Linked DNA regions of Homo sapiens: region 2 is linked to region 1. Evidence: promoter capture Hi-C in human tissues and cell types (Jung and others, 2019). All regions are on one chromosome and are shown on one strand. The core of a region is centred on a gene start or on the middle of the fragment in contact, and the rest is flanking DNA. Distances in the headings are between cores, read along the strand shown.

Region 1 (5,047 bases), core at 390-2,889:
ACTGAGGCGATCCTTCCACCTCAGCCTCCTGAGTAGCTGGGACTACAGGAATGTGCCACCATACCTGGCTAATTTTTGTATTTTTTGTAGAGATGTGGTTTCACCATGTTGCCCAGGCTGGTCTCAACTCCTGGACTCAAGCGATCCTCCCAAAGGGCTGGGAGTACAGGTGTGAGCCACTGTGCCTGGCCACGTCTAAGTACTTCGACATCTACTTCTGAACTGTATGGAGATTAAGTGTCAAAGGTGCAGCCAACATTCTTGGGCTTGGGTACCTCCTAAATAAGCCCATTCAGAATGGAGAGGGTTTCCTAAATCGTAGGGTCTCCAGGTCGTTTTGTAGCATTACAGTGGATTTGCTTTGTTTTCCCCTTTAAGATGTCTAAATTATTTTACTTAATTTTTGTAAAAGATTTTTGTCTTTAAATAGGTTCTTAGGCCTGGCGTGGTGGCTCATGCCTGTAATCCTAGCTCTTTGGGAGGCTGAGGCGGGAGGATCACTTGAGGCCAGGAGTTTGTGACTAGCCTGATCAACATAGTGAGACCCCCTCTCTACAAAAAATAATAAAAGGTATTAAGTGTTCATTTGTCCCCTTTATCACAATACAGCAGACAGAAGTTATCTGGCAACCTTGTGAGATGCAGCTAAAATAAAAAGGTGAAGCCAGTGTTGACAGAGTCTGGGATAGAGAAAATTCAGAGACAGTGATCTCACAGATCCCTGTGCTCCTTCCAAACACCCACGTTAGTGGCGTTGGGACGGCGCTTCCTAAATTTCCGTCCAACTCATCTGCTTGCGTCCGGACATTTGTTAAAAATATTTATTCCTGGCTGGGAGTGGTGGCTCACGCCTGTAATCCCAACTACTCAGGACTCAGGAGGCTGGAGCAGGTGGATCACTTGAACCAGGAGTTCGATACCAGTCCGGGCGACGGAGGGAGACCTCGTCTTTACAAAAAAAAAAAAAAAAAAAAAAAAATACAAAAATTAGCTGGGTATGGTGGCGCGCGCCTGAGTTCCCAGCTACTCAGGAGGCTGAAGTGGGAGGATTGCTTGAGTCCCAGAGGTCGAGGCTGCAGTGAGCCGAGATCGCGCTACTGCACTCCAGCCTGGGCGACAGAGTGAGACCCTGTCTCAAAAAAAATCCCCCAAAAACTGATTCCTGGGTCCTGCCCTAGACTAACTGACTCAGGATCTCCTGAGGTGGTACCTGGAAATCCGTCTTTTTTTTTTTTTTTTTTTTTTTTGGTTGAGACAGAGTGTCACACTGTCGCCCAGGCTGGAGTGCAGTGGCACGCTCACGGCTCTCTGTAGCCTTCACCTCCCGGGTTCAAGCGATTCTTCTGCCTCAGCCTCCCGAGTAGCTGGAACTACAGAAAATCTGCATTTTTTAAGCAAGCGCCGCGGACCGGTTGGAAACCACAGCCGGGATTTACACGCCCCTCGTTTACGCCAGCTTCACACCCGCTCACTAGTGCTCGCCCCTGTGCCTGCCATCGCTGCCTCACCCAGGCGCCGCCCTCCGGCCTCATCCGGGATCCGCCCCCTGCCTCATCCAGGCTTCGCCCCAGTCAGTCTCCGGCAGCTTCTCGCGGCTTCGCAAGCCCCTTCCCGTGATGCCCCGCGCCTGGCTGTCGCGGTTGCCGGGCAACGCGCTGTCCATGTCGCGGGCCTCGCTGGGACTCCCTGGGAGATGAGGCCGCGAGGTCTCCCGCCGCTCCTGGTGGTGCTCCTGGGCTGCTGGGCCTCCGTGAGCGCCCAGACCGATGCCACCCCGGCGGTGACGACAGAGGGCCTCAACTCCACCGAGGCAGCCCTGGCCACCTTCGGAACTTTCCCGTCGACCAGGCCCCCCGGGACTCCCAGGGCTCCAGGGCCCTCCTCCGGCCCCAGGCCTACCCCAGTCACGGACGGTGGGTACCATGTGCCAGCTCCTGGAGTCCACAGTGATCCAACCTCAAGGGGACAGCCCCGGTGAGGACGTAATAATGATAGCTAACTCTTATTGAGCACTTACTGTGTGCAGACACTGCTGAGTGTTCCATAAACGTCCATTCTCTAAACAATAACCCTGAGAAGTAGCTGTTACTATCACTGTCAGGTAAATGAGAAAACCGGGTCTCAGAGTTTAAGTGGAACGGTATCAAACCTTTGAAAATACTTGAAGTGGTCCCAGACAACAGTGATGCAAAGAGCAATAATGAATTCTTGCAGCCCAAGACGAAATTAAGTCGAGACAATGGTGGAAATTAGTGCCTTGGCTGCACTGAACTTTCACTTAAAGAGAGGCCAAAGGTCTATCTTACTAAATGTGACTATGTTAAGACCCTTCTCTGTTGACCTGAATTCTAAAAACCCAGGATTCCTCCTGTGTTGAATTGGAGGTGGAAAGCTATTGAGGGAGGGGTTATGCTCACTTCTTAGGAGTCATATGTAGGGATAATTAACATTTTTTTCAGAAAATGATTAATTCTAGAATTACACATTTAGTGGAAATATTTTATAATCTAATTTGACGTTTGGCTGGCGCCGTGGCTCACGCCTGTAATCCCAGCACTTTGGGAGGTCAACTCGGGTGGATTGCTTGAGGTAGGAGTTCAAGATCAGTCTGGTCAAAATGGCGAAACCCAGTCTCTACTAAAAATAGAAAAAATAGCCGGGCATGGTGTAATCCTAGCTACTCGGGAGGCTGAGGCAGGAGACTCGCTTGAACCCAGGAGGCAGAGGTTGCAGTAATTACCACTGCACTCCAGACTGGGCGACAGAGCAAGACTGTCTCAAAAAAAAAAATTGACATGGATGACTTCACTGAATGACTGTGACCCGCTAAGATTGAGTGCAAAACTTTGTGAATATGCCTTTTCCTGAGATGAGAGTTCATAGCAGCCGATTCTTAAAGTGGTTCATGATCTCAAAAAAAGTTTTTAAAATTTTCCGATTGTGTGAATTGAGAGTAACCCCAATAGATATGCAGTACTTTTAATCTTTTTTTATTCTTTTTTTGTTTTTGAGACAAGGTCTCGCTCTGTTACCCAGGCTGGAGTGCAGTGGCGTGATTATATCTCACTTAAGTCTCAATCTGCTGGGCTCAAGGGATCCTTCTGCCTCAGCCTCCAGAGTAGCTGGAACCACAGGCGTGCTCCCCCAGCTTGCTTTTTTTATTTTTTTATTTTTAGTAGAGATGAGATCTCGCTATGTTGTTCAGGCTGATCTCAAACTCCTGGGCTCAAGTGATCCTCCCACCTTGGCCTTCCAAAGTGCTGGGATTACAGGTGTAAACAACTGTGCCCAGCCTATCCCTTCTTAAGAAGATCTTTTCTCAAATTGATTAAGGCTCAGTATTAGTAAGTAAAAAAGTCATCAGCTGAGATCTTGAACTCTAGGACTTAACTGCGGTTACTGAACCTTTATTTCTCCAAAAGCTCTCCTTTCTGAATTACGAGTAATCTGAAAGAAAAAGTACAGAGAAATATATTTGCTATTTTAATATATAAACAGAGCTCTGTTTTATATTTAAATTGTTGATTTGATGAATTAGTAGGGAAGTTAAATCAGTGATAAACTGGGACAGAAGAAAGCCAAGTATTCAATGCCTGAAACTCTAAAGTTTTTGGACTGGATTGTCTTTTATTCATGTAAGTACTCCATCTGTTAATGCATTTTCTCTCCAAAATAAAGCTATGCTTGAAACATCATTATTATAGCATGTGTTCAAGGCTGTTTTTCCAGTATAGGGGATGAATTTGTGCTTGTCCTCACACTTTATTTTTTTTTTTTTTGGTCACAGGGTCTCACTCTGTCACTCAGGCTGGAGTATAGTGGCATGATCACAGCTCACTGCAGCCTCGACCTCCTAGGCTCAGGTGATCTTCCCACCTCAGACTCCCGGGTAGCTGGAACTACAGGTGCTGCATGCCACCACGCCCGGCTAATTTTTTGTAGGGACGGGGTTTCACCATGTTGCCCAGGCTGGTCTTGAACTCCTGGCCTCAAGTGATTGCCCACCTAGGCCTCCCATAGTGTTAGGATTACAGGCTTGAGCCACTGCACTCTGCCAGTCACCTGTCTTCACCTTTTTAAAGGACCTCTCTTTAGACTTGTGACAGTAATAACTCATTTGTTAACTGTTCACTGTGTGGCAGGCACTGTGCTAAGCATTTCACCTATGATGTATCTCATTTAATCCTTACAACAACCCCATGATGAGGGTACTGTTATCCCCATTTTTCAGGTGGATAAATTATTTGCCTAATTTTAGGACACGCAACTTGTAGATATCGGAGCAGGAGGCTGACTGTGAGTGGAGAACTGGATGGAAAATTGCAGGTGGCTTCAGGCAGTGTTGGTGGAGAAGAGTGATAACCCTTCATCTTGAATCTGGGCTCTGTTCATTAGTACCCTGCTCTACAAGCCAGGTGTGCAGATGCGATAGGAGGCAAGGGCAGCTGAGTGCTGCTTAGACCTGACAGGGGCTCAACAGCTACTTGGTGGATGATTAAGTACACTCGCATCCTGGGTAGAAACCTTTTTCCTAAGTGGAGTTATTAAACACTATTGCTTCGTCCTTAGTAGTCTTACAGCTGCCTATAAGGGCTTTAAGTTTTGAAAACAAAGCAAGATAGTAATTTTAAACATACAGGGAACCTAAAGCACTTTTAATTTTTTACATTAGCGTGCATAAGTTGTGTCATTTTACTAGGCACATAGAAGAGTTCTCAACTAGAGAGAAGCACTGTAAACTTTAGGGGGAAAGCTTTTGTGTCTTAGACTAAGAAATCATGGCATATTAACAAAACCTTCCCCTTCACCTCACACATTTTTTTTGCAGAGTGCATTATACCTTTTACGGGGTACTATTTTTTTTTTTTTAATTGCCCAGGCTGGAATGCAGTGGCGCAGTCTCAGCTCACTGCAACCTCCACCTCCCAGGTTCAAGCGATTCTCCTGCCTCAGCCTCCCAAGTAGCTGGGATTACAGCCGCGCGCCACCATGCCTGGCTAATTTTTTTGGTATTTTTAGTAGAGATGGGGTTTTACCACGTTGGCCA
Region 2 (4,893 bases), core at 2,340-4,839, 38 kb before region 1:
CACCAGAGTAGCTGGGATTACAGGCGCCCGACACTACGCCCAGCTAATTTTTGTATTTTCAGTAGAGACGGGGTTTCACCATGTTGGCCAGGCTGCTCTCAAACTCCTGACCTCAAGTGATCCACCTACTTTGGCCTCCCAAAGTGTTGGGATTATAGGCGTGAGCCACCACGTCCGGCCCTATGGTCATCTTTATATCAAAGGCCTTGCAAATGCTCATAGGCTTTGACCCAGGAATTCCTCTTCAAGGAATTACCCTGAGGAAATATTCAGATGTAAAGAGATACTCATTCTAGTGTTATTTATAACAGAAAATTGGAAACAACCTAAATAACTACAAATAGAGGACTGGTTTAGTAACTGATGGGCTATACATGCAGGAGAATATGATGCAGTTATGCTTACCAGTATGGAAACATGCACTCCAGCATGCTTCTGGAGTCACACACTATTAAAAACTCCATTTGCACACTGTTGCAACTTTTTAAAAGCTTTACAGAGTAGGATGCATATTAATCCAACATGTATTCTGTTTTTTAATAACATGTATACAATTATATACACAAAGGCTAGAGGGAACCACAATGACTATAGCTTACTATAGCTGAGTTATGATTTATAGGTGTTTTATATGGTACTTTTCTGAAGATGTGTTACTTTTATAAGCACTAAACATCCATTTATTTAAAAGCACTACACAGGCCAGGCACGGTGGCTCACACCTGTAATCCCAGCACTTTGGGAGGCCGAGGCGGGCAGATTACTTGAGATTGGGAGTTCAAGACCAGCCTGACCAACATGGAGAAACCCCGTCTCTACTAAAAATACAAAATTAGTCGGGTGTGGTGGCACATGCCTGTAATCCCAGCTACTCGGGAGGCTGAGGCACGAGAATCGCTTGAACCCGGGAGGCGGAGGTTACGGTGAGCCGAGATTGTGCCATTGCATTCCAGCCTGGGCAACAAGAGCAAAACTCTGTCTCTAAATAAATAAATAAATAAATAAAGGCACTACACAGGCTGGGCACGTGGTTCATGCCTTAAATCCCAGTACTCTGGGAAGCTGAGGTGGGAGGATTGCTGGAGCCCAGGAATTTGAGACCAGCCCAAGCAACACAGAGAGACTCTGTCTCCACAATAATTAAAAAAAAAAAAAAAAAAAAAAAAAAAAAAAAATTAAAAGCATTAGACATGCAAGCAAGAGACCTAGGTTCAAGTCCCAATATAATACTAACTATACCACCCTTACTTGATGTGTCAGTTTTATAGATGAGGAAACAGATTCACATTAAGTGGAGATAAGAGCAGCAGCTTCGTAGTTACAAAGATTAAATAAGGTAAAACATAAAAATGCTTTGCAACTTCTAAGGCACTATATAAAGCACTAGAAGGATGGGAGAATCATGTTTTGTGTCAGATATGAAACAACTGGCTTAGAAAAAAAAAAGAATGAAGCATTTTTACTCCTTAAAGAAAAGCTTCTGTCCTTCCCCATTGCCCAATCCTCAACCCCCAATCCTGTTGGGGATTTTTCCTGTTAGAGATTTTATTCAAAAACATTTAGCATCTCTTTTCTTCTTTAAAAACTTTAAACTAAATTGAAAGAGCTGTGCCAGTTGTCAACTCAAGTTGAAATGAATAATAAGTCGTGTGTTAGCCTAATGCCCTCTGCAATAGGTCAGCTTTTACAAAAAGTCTTGATTTATGATATGCAATTTTGTGAACTGTTAGGAAACAAATTATTTTAGTTCTCAGGGAGACAGAAAACTCCCTATCAGATTATTATTATTATTATTTTGAGACAGAGACTGGCTCTATCATCCAGGCTGGAGTGCAGTGGCACGATCTCGGGTCACTGCAACCTCTGCTTCCCAGGTTCAAGCGATTCTCATGTCTCAGCCTCCCTAGTAGCTAGGATTACAGGCACTCGCCACCATGCCCGGCTTTTTTTTTTTTTTTTTTTAAACTTTTAGTGGAGATGGGGTTTCGTCATATTGGCCAGGCTGGTCTTGAACTTCTGACCTCAAATGATCCACCCGCCTTGGCCTCCCAAAGTTCTGGGATTATAGGTTGTGACCCACCGTGCCCGGCCCCTATCAGGTTTTTAAAATATATGACGACTCCCAAACAAGACAGACTCATAAATTTTATTACTAACAACAAAAATTAGGATCCAGGACATCACTTCTTAAAAAGAGATCAAAAGTTAACAACTAATTTTGAAAGGCAAACTCACATTATTTTTCATAAACTAAAACTTCCAGTTTGAAAAGTCAAATTTCTTTAGAAATAAAATACTGCTAACTTACTTTTGCAAAGCATTTTCCTAAAACTTCTGAACCTAAAGCCCCAGGCAAGACCTCTCTCTAAAAGGCATGGGAACATAAAATGAATTTGACATTTAGCTTGAACTTAACTTTAGCATTTGAGCTACTCAAAGGACATGGTTGTAGGTCACATTCTAACCCGGTGTAGTGCTTCTGGTGTCACACACTAGTACAAACTCCATTTGGATACTGTTGCAACAATTCAGGTTATGTATTGCCCAGTTTCACAAACCAGTGCTAAAGTTCAGGGTACAGCCTCCTCCCATGCAGCAACCCCACCTCAAAAAAAAAAAAAAAAAAAAAAAAAAAAGCTCCACAACAGCTTGCATCTGTAATCTACCTTCTGCTACAATTTAAAACCTCCTTAATAAACAGTTATGCTTCTAAAATTCAATTACTTGCACTACAAAAGGATTCAACCAGAATCCTTTACAGAGACTGTTAACAAATCAAGAGATAAACTGTAAGTTAGGAAAATTTTAAACTAAGCTAGAAAATCTCAAAAGATTTGTGAACAAAGGAAAAGTAGCTCTGAAGCTATAACAAATGAAGAAATGACTTCAAAAATAAAGGTACCTTAATAAGTAACTTATAAAACTGCAACACACCTATATAGCAAAATGAGAAAAATACCAAGGAACAGAAGTTTAAAAAGCAAACAGCAAACCTCCTCTATCCATCAACCCTGTAATCTTATGTATTACAGAATGAAAGACCACTCAGAATAGTCAGAAAGCCACTAGTCAATGGCTTCCTAAACCCTGCTATTTCATTAGTCCTAGATGGCTCTTTTACTAAATCCACTCACACTTCCTTATTAATATTCCACAATTTTCTCTTGGAAGCACACAGCTCATTATGAAATCAGGCATATTTAAAGTACTGATTGATCTCAGAATTTATATATTTGATTGCTGCAATTTTTAAAGTATTTTCCCTTATATAAAATAATTATATGTATATTAATATTATATAGCTACATAAAAAAACAGCTATATTCCTCACAAAGTTAAACAGGGTTACAATATGACCCAGCAATTCTACTCCTAGGTATATATCCCCTCAAATTAAAAACATGTCCATACAAAAGCTTGCACACAAATGTGCACAGCACTATTCACAATAGCCAAAAGTAGAAACAACTCGATGGCCATCAACAGATGAATGGATCAACAAAATGTGGTATATAAATATAATGGAACATTATTCAGTCATAAAAAGGGAGGAAGTACTGACACATGCTCCAACATGGATGAACTCTGAAAACATGCTAAGGGAAAACATGCTAAGGAAAAGGCCACATATTACACGATCCATTTGTATGAAATGTCTCAAACACAAATCCACAGACAGAATCTGCTTTCTGTTGCCAGGGAGATGGGGAGTGACTGCTAATGGATAGGGGGTTTCTTGGGGGGTGATGAAAAACATTCTGGAACTAGATAGTGGCAGTGGCTGTACAACTTTGTGAATGTAAAAACTACTGAACTGTACACTTTAAAAGGATACATGCTATGGAATGTGAATTATACATATCAGTTTTTAAAAATTCACTCAAGGGGCTGGGCACGTGGTTCACGCCTGTAATCCCAGCACTTTGGGAGGCCAAGGCAGGTGGATCACCTGAGGTCAGGAGTTCGAGACTAGCCTGGCCAACATGGTGAAACCCCGTCTCTACTAAAAATATAAAAATTGGCCAGGTGTAATGGTGGGTGCCTGTAATCCCAGCTACTTGGGAGGCTGAGGCAGAAGAACTGTTTGAACCCAGGAGGCAGAGGTTGCAGTGAGCCAAGATCGCGCCACTGCTCTCCAGCCTGGGCACAAGGGCGAGACTCTGTCTCAAAAAAAAAAAAAAAAAAAAAATTCACTCAGGGTCATATTTGCTATCAACAGGTAGATGATGCTGGAATCTGACTTTAAGAAAATTATGGCATGTCCTGCACATGTATCCTGGAATTTAAAAAAAGTAAAATTAAAAAAAAAAAGAAAAAAAAATTATGGTAATATAATGAGAGTGGTGTCCTGACATGGCTTGAAATCTAGCTGAGGAAAATTCCAACAAGGACTTCTTGAAAGACTGAAGTCAGTGGGTGCACACACACACTCTGAAGGTGACTACTTTTTTAAAAGGACAACTCACTTTCAGAATAGAGGTTCTATAAGTACATTAAAATGATCATGACTGTTTGAAAACACCAAATTCTACCTCATCCATTCACTTCCTAAATATAATTTAGATCTTAATTTTGTTCATATGATCTTTACACCTCAAGACAACTACTTTTAAGACTGACATTACTCACAAAAACACTTCAAAATCCTGACCACGATCAAAATCAGATCCAAAGGCTGGGATATGAAATTATTTTAATTTCACTTTTAGGTTTCAAGTTTAAGCTTAAATAAACATCCCACAGTTTCATAATAAATACTTTACAACTCAATATTCAGAGGTCAAAATTTATATGGCACAGACCAGGCTGCCATTTTTAAAATAAGTGGTTTCTCTAAACTGTGGTTTAGCATGCAGAGGAGTTTTTGTTGCACATCAGTTATGAGTCAGAGTG

The links. The method cuts DNA at HindIII sites, captures the fragments that hold promoters and counts their contacts. A contact is called where the count stands out against the background at its distance.
Region 2: a fragment that was not itself captured here is called in contact with the fragment with the promoter of TCTN1 in region 1 in 1 of the 25 tissues and cell types used here (H1 embryonic stem cells).

What each region holds. Positions count from the first base shown.
Region 1 is chr12:110,612,490-110,617,536 of GRCh38, forward strand. It overlaps TCTN1 (tectonic family member 1), which reads left to right and starts at 1,640. Exons shown (of 15, transcript NM_001082538.3): 1 at 1,640-1,913. The coding sequence starts at 1,694. RefSeq lists an enhancer at 1,917-1,966. The HindIII fragment of the contact is 11,470 bases long and covers 1-5,047 here.
Region 2 is chr12:110,573,000-110,577,892 of GRCh38, forward strand. All of the region lies in intron 1 of PPTC7 (protein phosphatase targeting COQ7), which reads right to left. Among named protein-coding and RNA genes, the nearest start is that of PPTC7, 7.9 kb to the right of the region's middle. RefSeq lists an enhancer at 2,494-2,638 and a cis regulatory region at 2,560-2,573. The HindIII fragment of the contact is 5,210 bases long and covers 985-4,893 here.